Linked DNA regions of Homo sapiens: region 2 is linked to region 1. The links are contacts of gene promoters, found by promoter capture Hi-C in blood cells and fetal thymus (Javierre and others, 2016). All regions are on one chromosome and are shown on one strand. The core of a region is centred on a gene start or on the middle of the fragment in contact, and the rest is flanking DNA. Distances in the headings are between cores, read along the strand shown.

Evidence for each region. The method cuts DNA at HindIII sites, captures the fragments that hold promoters and counts their contacts. A CHiCAGO score of 5 or more calls a contact.
Region 2: a contact is called between the fragment with the promoter of WDR75 here and the fragment with the promoter of NEMP2 in region 1, in 6 of 17 cell types (naive B cells, total B cells, fetal thymus and 3 more). The highest score is 9.0, in naive B cells.

Annotation. Positions count from the first base shown.
Region 1 is chr2:190,530,067-190,536,240 of GRCh38, forward strand. It overlaps NEMP2 (nuclear envelope integral membrane protein 2), which reads right to left and starts at 4,656. Exons shown (of 9, transcript NM_001142645.2): 1 at 4,493-4,656. The coding sequence starts at 4,589. NEMP2-DT (NEMP2 divergent transcript) reads left to right here and starts at 4,772. Exons shown (of 5, transcript NR_183903.1): 1 at 4,772-5,055. RefSeq lists a silencer at 4,320-4,969. The HindIII fragment of the contact is 6,238 bases long and covers 1-6,174 here.
Region 2 is chr2:189,437,680-189,443,989 of GRCh38, forward strand. It overlaps WDR75 (WD repeat domain 75), which reads left to right and starts at 3,795. Exons shown (of 21, transcript NM_032168.3): 1 at 3,795-3,899. The coding sequence starts at 3,814. It also overlaps a transcript of COL5A2 not described here. RefSeq lists enhancers at 2,661-3,359, 3,131-3,290, 3,311-3,530, 3,791-3,920, 3,941-4,170 and 1 more. The HindIII fragment of the contact is 5,353 bases long and covers 704-6,056 here.

The sequences.
Region 1 (6,174 bases), core at 3,406-5,905:
CTCATATATGATACATCAGTGTATTCTGGGTAAGGGATCTGCCAGTTAGAGGAAAAGAACTTGTTCTGCATTTCCCCTCAGTCTTCAACCAGATTAAGGACAGCATAGAAGGAAGGAGGTTGTCCTGACTGTTCATGCCTATAGACACGCTAGTAAAAGCATGTTGCAGTGTTTTCCCTCGAATTCTCCAGAGTGGCCTCTGGCTTTTGAGGTGAAGCTGATGTGGAATTTACACAATCCATGAGATTCCACAAAGTGTCAGTGCTTCATGGTGTCCTCTGGCTGCCCTTTTTTCTTATCACCTCTCTCCCGAGGTGAATGAGTCTCAAACAACCCACACAGGAATTCCTAAATATCTAAGGGACCATAAATTCAGCCATAAGAAGCCACAAGCCTAGCTTCAAGTCAGTTCATTAAGCCACGGGCTATTTGGACTAGGCAAAAGACAGTGATTGTCACAAGACTGTTATCACAGCTGGCCCACTGTTCTCTCTAGAGAGAACAGATCTTCCAATCTTAGATTGATTATAAAGGCTGTATCTTTCTTAGGTCTCTCCTCCCTTTAGCAATCTTCTTCTAGAGCCATTTCACTGCTCGGTTTCAATCATGTCCAATGGAAACAGGAAACAGAGCCAGTTTGACTGCTTATTTGAACTCTATGGCTGATTATGCCCTGACACTGAAGGCTATGAAGCTGCCTGCATGTCTGCGGGTTTCATTTATTCATGAGGCCCCAGTTATTGCTGGTTAATTCTACTAGGATAGAACCTCCGGTAGCAGATGTAGGCAAACTCAAATGTATCAAAACAACAACGGGCCAGGTGCTGAGGCTCATGCCTGTAATCCCAGCACTTTGGGAGGCCAAGGCAGGTGGATCCCTTAAGGCCAGGAATTTGAGACCAGCCTGGGCAATATGGTGAAACCCTGTCTTTACCAAAAATAAAAAATTGGCCAGGATCATAATTCAGTCTCAAAAATAAATAAACATTTAAAAATTAGAACAAAAACAACAACAATCCCCTTACAATGCAATCCAGGAAATGAAACAGAATTTCTAGGAATTTTTAAAAATCTAACAATAATCATTCATTTGGTCAAAAGGGAACAATACCTGCCTAGGGAAAGCTACTGCTTCTACTTGAGGCTGAGGTATTTAATATGTCCGTACCCTGGAAGGTGCTCCATAACCTAGGTAATCACTTCCTCAAGCCTGAATCAGATCGGGAGAAAGATCTGGAAGTGTAGGCTATCCCAGGTTTGCCTCAACCCTCAAGGACTGAGGAGTATCTGTGGGATCAACCCTGAATGCCATCCTTACTATGGAAAGACAGGTTTCTAAGCCTGGAAGGGCATCATTTTCCTTAACTTCTTGCAATCCTCAGCAGGCTCTTTGATGCTTTCAATTAACCTGACTTCTAGAGAACAGTATATTTCTGGATAGTTGTGCCCAAATTTCTAAGATGTTACAGGAGGCATTAATTATTTACATTACCAAAGGATTCAGAAAGTCAGGGTTCCCTTAACCAATGAGATAGATTCCTTAGTTCATTTTAAATACCACTCAATTTATGAATATTCAATTAATCTAATTTTAGAATTACATATCTAGTATAAAAAAGGGACAGCTACATATCACCTAATTATAAGCTCAATTATCTCCTTTGTAGTACTTTTGTCATTTATTAGTTTTCCTAAATGTAAGTATATGTTTAAGTTAAAGAGTTGAGTCATATATACGGAAAAAAAAACCTCAGTCAAAACATCAGAAAAGAGCAGGCAGTACTTAAACCTACTTACAGAATATGCTAAAAATAAAAAGCACAAACACCTCAAATCTTAGCAGAACCTAACTCCCAACACAAAAATATCTCACCAATGTTCCTCCTGAAAACTGACATGGCCCTCATATGGGGAAAAAAAATATCTTCAGATGAAACTAGAATGGAATCATAATATAAACACTTATTAACTTATATGACAAATTTCCCCATTTTCCCTATAACTGTTTTTCTTTGGGGACAAGGAAGGGGAGGGAGAAGAGTAGGAAACACAAAAAGCAAAAAACCAACAAGTCTTAACTTGTGAGAAGTCAAATGGACTCAGGATTTTTCTTACTATTTGTTTTTTGTAAATACACATTTTCAAAGGTGTTAACGTGAGGCACCAAAGTGATAAAGGTAACTATTCTCTTAACCTCAGTTTTTTTTAACCTGAATATTCATCTTTTTCTTTCTCCAAGAATATGAGAATGAAACTGGAATTAGTATATACTCATGCACACTCAGGTCTTTAACTTCAAGTTCAAATCTTCACAGATGAATCTTAAAGCTGTGGTGTCAAATGGACTGTTATAGTTTAAGCCTGGAAAGCCACTGACAGGGCCTGAACTTCATCTCAGGACAACACATGGTTTCTAGGGACCTCACTAACTGGGTGAAAATTATGGGAAACTCTTGAAGTTTCTCCTCTCAGTCAGACAACTACCTGCTCCTCCTGTGTCAACTGTCTCTGACTTTCCTCCAAATAGAGTGACAGAAAGCTGGGGTTGGTCTGAATGTTCTCCATTCCATTGAAGTGTGTGTTATTCAAGACAAAATTTTAGAACAGGAAGGCACCTTAGGTATCACTAATCCAAGCCCCTCGCTTAAAGGAAGTACCAGCTGTTTCCTCTCAGGGTCCTCAAGAAACCATAGACTTTTAAAGAGCAGCTATGGTTCTTAAGCCTAGTCTAATCCAGGGCTGCCAACAGTGTCACTGGCACACTACCAGATGCTGGGCGCTTCACAGTCCGTATTGGAAAGCCTACCGGAATGGCAGGCATCCCTCTAAGGCTACAAAAGTTGCCATTCTTCTTAGCTGTGGACTAGTTTTATCAAGTCAGTGGGCATCCTGCATGTCTCAGGCAGAACAGAAGCTCCAATAAGTATTTATGTGTGTCTTTGATTAACAAAGCAGAGAAGCAGGCTGTTACTATTATACTAAATGCGGTAACATAAAAACTTTAAAAACACCAGGTTCACTGAGGTGAGGAAAATACTGGAAACTCTTCAGTAAAAACATCTTCATTTTACTCAAGAGAAAACTACGGTCCATAAAGACTCTGTGCCTGGACCAAGGTTATACCACAAGTTGTGGCTGAAGGAATGAGTGGTCTAGAACCCAAGGTGCTGGGTGCTGGTCTAAGGCTACTTCTAATTTTCTCGCTGTTGCCATGCCCAGAAACCTTCCTGCTTAGACAGATTTGTGTTTTATTTTTTCACCAGCATAAAATTGTTGTATTTCTTACTACCAAACCTTCGTTTTCTCATCTGTAAAATGGGTATAAAATGGTGCTTTCCCGCATAGGGCTTCTATGGGTATTAAATATGATAGATACTGCAGTTAAAGCACTTATAACACTGCCTAGCACATACTGAACACTCAAAAAATTTCTCTTCAATGAAAACTGGAATCCAACACTTCCCCAACATATAACTCACTGCAAGATTCCCTCAGTTGGGAGCTGTGGCAGAATCTGATAATGACCTCATCAACATCCAGTCTCTCATTCATCCTTAGATAAAAAACCGCGGTATAACCGGAGGGAGGGCCATGCCCAGCTAAAAGAATACACTTGGCAGCCTCCCTTGAAACCAGGGTAGCCAAAGCAAGGAAGGGAAGTTGGTAGACAGTGCACCCAGGAAATCTTTTAAAAGATTTTATGAGGGGAAAAAAAAAAAGAAACAGAAATGTGAAGCTCATGGTAAGTTAGCGGCAGGTCTGGAGTTGGAACTCTAGGTTTCTGACTTCCCCAGGTGTCCTTCCCAGATCCTTCCCCAGTGTGCCAGCATCTTAAGCCCACTCCGTGGCGAGCCCCTACAGCTAGCAGCCGCTACCAGTTCTTGCTTCCTGTGTGCCAGGCATTGTGCACACGAACACCACAAGAACCTTGTGAGGCCTCATTACCTGCCGCTCACGTGGGACCGTTATGTTTACTCGCTCAAGGTCACAACAGTCAGGGGCAGAAGAATTTTCGCTCCGATTCTGAAGCTGAAGCTGTTACCTTCTCTAGTCTTGAGACCAAAGGAATGCGAGATAGTGAAATAACAAGGATTTCAACACGCATTGATGTACTGTACAAAAGGCCGTGTGCTGAAAGTCTGGAGACTAGGGTCAGCTGTGCCAGTGACAAGCTGTGTGACCCTGGGCAAATCAAAACCTCTCTGAGTTTCGGTTGCTTCTGTAAAACGAGGGAATTGGGCGACTGGATCGCGCGGTTGCTTCTAATTCTAAAATTACAAAATGTCCAACTGCCAGGCGAGAGACTACGGAAGCCCAGTAAGACAGGAAGGGCGGGCGGGGCCTGCCCGGGAGACCCCAAAGCGAGAAAAGGGAGCGCCCGCCCCAGTGGGCCTCGCGGTGCCGCCCGGGCCAAAGAGCGCGCCCTCAGGGCAGCCGCGAAGCCGGGGAGCGAGCACGCACGCGCGCGCCGCCGCCGCCGGTCCCGGGTTACCTGATAACGCTGCCGCCGCCGCCTCCCCGCGCACGGGCAGTGTGGCCAGGGGCGGCAGCCAGAGCAGCAGCCACCACCGCCCTTGGCGCGGCCCCATTTCGTTAGGGGTCAGCTCCGTGCGACCCGAGCCCTAGGGGACCGGCTCCGCTGCGAGGAGCGGAAGTGGCGCGGGGGCTCAGAGAAGGCGGAGGGGGCGGTGAGGCCCGAACGCGGGAAAGGCGGAGACCCCGCCTCCCCGGGGCGGAGGGAGAGTTGGGCTCGTTGCTCCAGCCTCCGCCCGCGGCCTCGGGGCACGGCGGGCCCAGGCCGGAGGAGCTTTCGGTGGCGCGACCCCGCTGGCATGCTCCCGGCCTCGGCCTCGGCCTCGGCCTTGGCCTCCGGGCCTCCAGCGCACGCGGGGCGTCCAGGGCCTCATCTTCCCCTGGGGACCGCCCGGCCGTGTCCCGCTGCCCTCGGCGCAGGGGTGGGAGTTGCAGAGAGGAAGAGTCGCTAACCCGGAGTGTTTCTTAAAACTTGGCTGACCTGTGACCTGCGGATTTGGAGGCTGAATTCTCCGAGCACCTGTGAGTGACAGCCCGTGAATGGGAAGGTCCTTCGGCAAACGCCCTTTTTGTGAATAAAATACATAAAAGCCAGTTTCTTTATTTTACCTTTCTGTTTATCTTTTTACTTTCATTTGGTAACAAGCAATAACAAATTGGAAATTTGGCCGCTTAAGTAACACTGACTTGTATGTCTAATCTCGGACACGGCATTTCAGAGTACAGAGGGGCTCGTAAAATGTTCCTTCACCAACATGACAAGGTTCTCTTAAAATTACCTTATGTTAAAAAAAAGTTTCTTAATGTAATAGATATATTTTTAAATTAACATATAACCTGAATGATCTTAATACTGATAATTAGGAGATATACATATATTTTAAAGAACATTCCCTCCACAGGACCTGGAACCCATTAATTTGACTCAATATTCCATACTTAACTAGGACAGTCTTCTCTAATTCTGGTCTTTTGGTGAGATATCTTAGAGAACCCAAAGTAACAGAAATTATCCTGTTAAAAATAGATAAGCCTCATTTTTCCTAAAAGTCTGAGTAGGATGGACTAGGCTTTCCTTGCCCTCAAAGAAAGGTTTAACCAACTGCCCTTAAGCACTTGGCACCATGTGTACACCATGTATGGCTTTTAAAAAGTTAAGAAATTTCCTTGTAAGGGACTCTTCAGAGGGATGGTTTTTAAAAATAAACCATCATTACTTGAGTGAAGCCTGTCTTCAGAGAAACAGCAGAGCCCTGATCCAATTCTTTCCTGTATTCCCAGGTGCGGTGTGCACTTGCTTCTTGCAAGACAGCTTTTGTACCTAACCACATTCATTTTGATTTGGTTTAATTTTGGATGGCACTATGGAAAGTAGCTAAAATAAACAGGTGGGTTGTTGAATGATGAATGTATTTTCTACAGATATATCTGGTGGAGAAACAAAAGGGCAGGCAGCAATGTACTAAATATTTAAAGTGCTATTTATATCACAGATCCTTAGTAAATATCTGTAAAGAAGCTATATTGAAACACCACATTTTTCTCTATAAGCAATAAATATTTTTCCGGAGATAACAAGAATGTTAGGAGGTGATAGTTCTGTCACTGGGGGACAATCATGAAATTCCACTTAACCTCTCC
Region 2 (6,310 bases), core at 2,545-5,044, 1.1 Mb before region 1:
ATATGGGATAGATAAGGATTTCAGCATCATAGGAAACCTAAGAAGAGATAAAAATTGCACCATCATTAGGGAATGAGGAAACATAGCAGAGCCCAAGGGCCTATCACTAAGTAATTCATGACATTAATACAAAATCGATGTAATCTGCTTGAAGATGTCTCCTATGTACATTATGCAGGGTAGTGGTGTGAAATACTGTACATGGTGTTTATATCTGTTGAAGGGAACAGAAACATACATGAAGATACTAAGCAGTAAAAATGTGACTAAATCCTTCTCACTAATGGGAAAGCTTTTAAAAATTTTATTAAATAAAAAATAAATAAAAATAAAAATTTTAAAAGAGAATGCTCAAAACTCAACAAGAAGATAACCAATAAAGCAATGCGTGAAGGACTTGATGACACTTCACCAAAGAGGATATAAAATGATGCTCAGCATTAGTCATTAGGGAAGTGAAAATTAAAACCACAATGAAATACCACTACAAACTTATTATGATGGCTAAAATAAAAAAAAAAAACCTTGACAATACCAAGTCCTGACAAGGGTGTAAAGTAACTAAAACTTTCATACATTACTTATGGAAATGCAAAAATAGTACAGTAACTCTGGGAAAAAAAGAGTTTGGCAATTTCTTAAATAAACATACACTTATGATTTGAGCAATCTCATTTGCTGGTATTTATCCTAGAAAAATAAAAGCTTATGTTCACACATAAACCTACATATGAATGTTTAGAGAAGTATTATGCATAATTTCTAAAACCTGGGGGTAAAACACATTCAACAAATAAACTGTGAAATAGCCATACAATGGAATACCACTCAGCAATATAAAGCACTGATGCACATAACATAAATGCAATATGCTAACTGAAAGAAGCTAGACTGAAAAGGTTACATACTATATGATACCATTTATACATGGCTTTCTGGAAAAGGCAAAACTAGGGATGGAGAACATTAGTGGTTGCCAGGGGATAGGTCTTGGGGAGGGGAAGGAGAAATACTGGGGAATTCTTTGAGGTGCTGGAATTCTTCTGTATCCTATTTGTGATGGTGGATACGATAATTTGTGCATCATAGATATCAAAGAAAGCAGATTTTATTGTATGTAAATTTTTAAAATTAGCCTAATCGTTTCACTTTTTAACACAAAGGCTACACTGTCTTCAATTTCAGAGTAAAACCCAAAGCTGTTACAATGATCTAGGAGACCCTATGAACTGGCCTCTTATTACCTCTCTGACCTCACCTTTTACTATACCCCCTTGATGATTATTCTCCAGCCACACTGGCCTCTTGACTTATCTTGAACATGGAAAGGAATACTCTTTCCTCTGGCTGACTCTTTCACCAAACAGCTCCATGCTTATTCACACTCTCAACCTTTTCAGGTTATTTCAAATGTTACCTTCTCAGTAAGGCTTTCCCTGAAAACCCATAATAAAGGTGATCAAACCCTTATAATCACTTTCTTTTCTACTTTGAGTTTCCCCTTGGCACATAAATACATCAAAAGTATAATAAGTTTTTGTTTCTTCCCATGATAAGGTAAGGTCCAGTAACATACAGATTTTGTTAACTATTTTTCTCACTCCAGTATTCCCAGAGCCTGAAAGAATGTCTGGCATATACTAGGCACTTAGTAAATATTTCCTGGATGGAAGATGCCAAATAAGTGTTTCTGGAAAATCCTTTTCCTTCTGTATATAGGCTATGCTCTTTCTTGCTATTCCCTTATTTCTTCTAACTGAAAGGAACATGAACTGTGAGCATAAGGACAAAACCAATATGGTTAAGGACAATAACACAAAGAACAAAGTAGAGAAAGCACAGGTCCCTGGTGGCATGAATGATCCACTGCACTAGCCCTATTCTGCCTACCTCAGCCTTCTTGTTACATGATAAAGACAACGCACTATTAATTAAACAGCTGTAGGTGGGATTGGTTCCTTAAAAATTATGTAAAAAGAAATCAAAATACAAATGACTTATCTTTCTGGGCACTTCAGTAAATTAAAACTCTGTGTAAAATAATCCTCCTATACATTTATCAATCCAGCTAGTTTTTGTCCATATCAGGATTTCTGATTCTTTTCTGAAAAATCTAAAGTTACCATACAGTAACATACAACTAAAGTCACACTAATTTGAGTGAAAATATTTATTTTGTTTCTTGGCTCAGGCCCTAAGGAAAAGCCTGTATCAGGTTACAAAGTACCCAACAAAGTCTTTAAAAGATTTATTGTGCATACATCAAGAGACTAAACAAAAAGAGGTTAAGGCTGCAGAATCAAAAGTGATATTTTACACTCCATCCACTGTGACAAAGGGTATCACAGTCATGAAAGAGAAAGCTGGTTACAGCTTGAGATAAACCAAAATTATTAAATATCTCCCTTTCTAGTTCTGGCTCCCCAAATAATAAAGTTTTGAGCACTTTAATAAGCTAGACTCCTCAGTAAAAAGTAAATTTATCCCTGATTTTTACAGTGGTGCTGTCCCAGGATATGTCTTGACCTTTGTGAATATTGTATTTCTCCACCATAAATAAACTTATAGGTATAATCATGTGTGGCTTAATGATGGGGATATGTTCTAAGAAATGCATTTTAGGTGATTTCATCATTGTGTGAATATCACAGAGTGTACCTACACAAACCTAGATGGTACAGCCTACTACACACCTAGGCTGTACGTTATAGCTGATTGCTCCTAGGCTACAAATCTGAACAACATGTTACTGTACTCAATATTGCAGGCAATTGTAACAGAATAGTATTTGTGTATTTAAACACATAAAAGGTACAGTAAAAACACAGTATTATAATCTTACGGAATCACCATGTTATATGCATTGATTGAAAGATCCTTATGTGACATGTGACTATATTTGAGACCTTGGTAATTTTGTGGTAAATCCACAAATCAAGAAGCGAAATCAAAATAGGCAACATAATATACAGGGTCCAAGAATATGATACGTGTAAGTTTACAAAGGAAAACTGGAGATAAACTGGCAAAAATAAACATGTTGAGATTTTAGGGGTTCCTAACCCACAGATTCTATTCACTAATGGGAAAAGGTAAAACTCAGGAAACCAGAGACCAGCGCCCTGAAACCTGGCGGGACTGGCCGAATGTCAGATTAGCCCGAGCAGCTACACTGAACGCTGCGGAAGATGCACCAGAATCCCGGAGTAGGAGCCAGATTTCCAAAGGAAGAAAGCTAGGCCCTAGGACTGTGGAGATTCTGTAGTAACCTAAGCGATGTTCACAAGAACAGAAGAACGGCTAATGAGAGGAACAAAAAGCTGTACAAGGAAGAGAAAGCTACCTTTCCACCCAATAACTCAACGCTGCGACCGAGAAAACCAGGGACGCGAGAGGCTCGCGTCATCCTGCAGCGCCGACACCACAGACACTAGAAAGCGACGCCTCCGGTGGGACGACTGGAGGTCACGTGGTACACTATACGCCACCTTTCCCTTCTGGCGGAAAAAGCCATAGAGTCAGGTTGACAAGGCCTGAGAGAAATATGTCTGTATTAAATAATTGTGTATAGGTATATAATAAAAACTGATTGTCTCTAAATCTCTGTTTTGCTTTCACCTTTTCTTACAAGTGTCTTAGTTTGACATTGCCCACACAAAAGGTGCCTGCACGGAAGCGGAGTCCTACCACCGAGTCTCAGGCCTAGAAGGGCCCGGGGGTGGGTTCTGTGGGCTGGGAACAGCCTTATTACCCGGCTCAACGAAGGAAGTTCAGGGCGGGACCAGAGATTGGCCATTCCGCTACTGCGCAAAGATGGTGGAGGAGGAGAACATCCGCGTGGTTCGTTGTGGCGGCAGCGAGTTGAACTTTAGGAGAGCTGTGTTCTCTGCAGATTCTAAGTATGAGGGGCACCGCGCTTTGTCGGCTGAGGGGCGGGGCGTGAGTTTCTCGAGGGTCGGGGAGAAGGAATTGTCAGTCGCGTTCGGACTCGCCCGCCTGGCGGATATCGGCTTTGGGTAGAGCACGCGCCTGTGGGGGATCCCCAGGGTACCTGGGAGGTCCCGTTACCACTGCAGATTGGGTTGCGTCCCCCGATTCCTGGACAGTTTACCTGCAGGTAGATAAAGGCCCTGGAGCCGGTCTCCGTGTCGAGGATCTGGAAGGTGTTCGGGCGGCTGGAAAATGGTCCAGGGGTGGATGTGTATGCCACTACCTTTGCAGTACCTACTCTTTCGTACAGAATCATGTTTTGGAGTGACTAAAACCTAAAACTATTCCGCTTTTTCTACCCACTCCTCACTCCTGAAGCATAGTGCATGAAGCATAGTGCAGTCTTTTCGGAACTTTACATGAAAACAGATGTTAGATTCTTTATGAGATAAAAATACGCTAAGACTTGGTCTCTTTTCTCAGTGTAGCTGGAAACCAAACCACTCCCTGGCTTCAAAATCCACTTCTTACATTATGAAACCTTTGTAAGTTTCTTAATCTTTGCCTCAGTTGCCATCATCTGTAAAGGGGGACAATATTTAGTTCATCTCACGTGGTTATTGGGAGGATTAAATGCCTCAATATGTTAAAACTACAGACAACAATGCCCGGCACATAATGGCTCAATGTATGTAGCTGTAATCATTATTACTGTATTGTCAGGTTTTCAAATAACTTTAGGTAGGGTGGCACTTAATAAAATCAAAAAACCCTTTCTGCCTTAGAAGAGTAGAGATAGTATTTTATGAAAGTTTGTAGCCTCCACAATATTCTTTTTTTTTTTTTTTTTTTTTTTTTTGATGCAGAATCTCACTCTGTCACCCAGGCTGGAGTGCAGTGGCTCAATCTAGGCTCATTGCAACCTCCGCCTCCCTGGTTCAAGCAATTCTGGTGCCTCGGCCTCCTGAGTAGCAAGTATTATAAGCGCGGGCCACCACGCCCGCTAATTTTTGTATTTTTAGTAGAGAGAGGGTTTCGCCATGTTGGCCAGGCTGCCCTGGAACTCCTGGCCTCAAGTGATCTGCCCACCTGAACCTCCCAAAGTGCAGCGATTACAGTGAGCAACTGTGCCCGGCCCACCCCCACAATATTCTGCATATGAGTGTACGACAGGTAGTTGTTGAAGGTAATGCAAGCATGACTGAAAGAGCTTTTATAAATTGCCTTAGAAGCCAAAAAAAAATGAGTCCTGTGGCTTTGTTGACATTGATCTTATGAATCAAAGGAAGAAACAGGCTTTAAGAGGCTGTCACACTGTGACGCTTCGGACTCATATCCATGTAACCAGTACTGTTCTTATACCTTATTCATTATAATGAGGTCCATTGTGTGTTTGATTTGCTAAGCCCAACAATTCATTTTTTAAGTACTTGTCAACTATATATTATGTATAACATGCTGCAGTGACAAAAACTAAGATAATTTTAATATTGATCCTGCCTTCGAGGAGCTTACAGTCTAGTGAGGAAAAGGAATACTCAGTAACAGATTTTTCTTACTGTGGTCCTGTAGGAAGGAGCTCATAAGAAGAGATTACTTCCCAAACTAAGAAGGACGGAGAAGATTGCTGAGCAAATGACATTTGTGCTAGGCCTAGATGATATTTTAAGTGGGGAATATGGACAGAAGACATTTCAGGTGGGGAGGACAGTGTAAGCAAGAAAGACAGAAGTGATTTCTGTTGAACAGGCTGGTACAGTTAGCTAGTAAGAATGGTATATATTAAGGGAGGTAGTGGGAAATGAGGTTGGAAAGGACACGTGCAGCCAGTTGTTGGTTGTTGTTTGGACCAAAGAGAATGGTTTTTTAATTCTTTAAGGGGACGGCGGTAATCAGTTGTAATTTGATTGTGTTTCTTCAATAATGTTAACCTGAAAACTGTAAAACTCTATGATACATGTTGGTGAGTGGAGAAATGAGAGCTGGGTAGGCTGATGTACATAAAGTACAGTGATGGCATAGAAGAGGGAGTTACATAGTCAGTTTTACCTTCAGTAGTGGTTCTTGCAGCAATGGCAAGAGTTTGCCTCACCAGTAATACTGGGGGATGGAATGCCAGGCAAACAAGCTTGAAATCTGGGGGCCTTGAAAACTGGGGGGATTGAGCCTTCTATGTAAAGTCAGTGTAATTGCAGCATAGGGTATAAGAGATGGCAGGAAAAGACTCTGGAAGAATAGAGACCAGGGGTTAGAAGACCAGTGCAGGCATCCAAGCAAGAAATCACTTTTGCCCAAACTAAGGTAATATTGAACATGGAGAAAAGAGACAGGGTTTTAGAGTGATTTCACAGTCAGTGTCAATGGGGAGATAGAGTTCAGT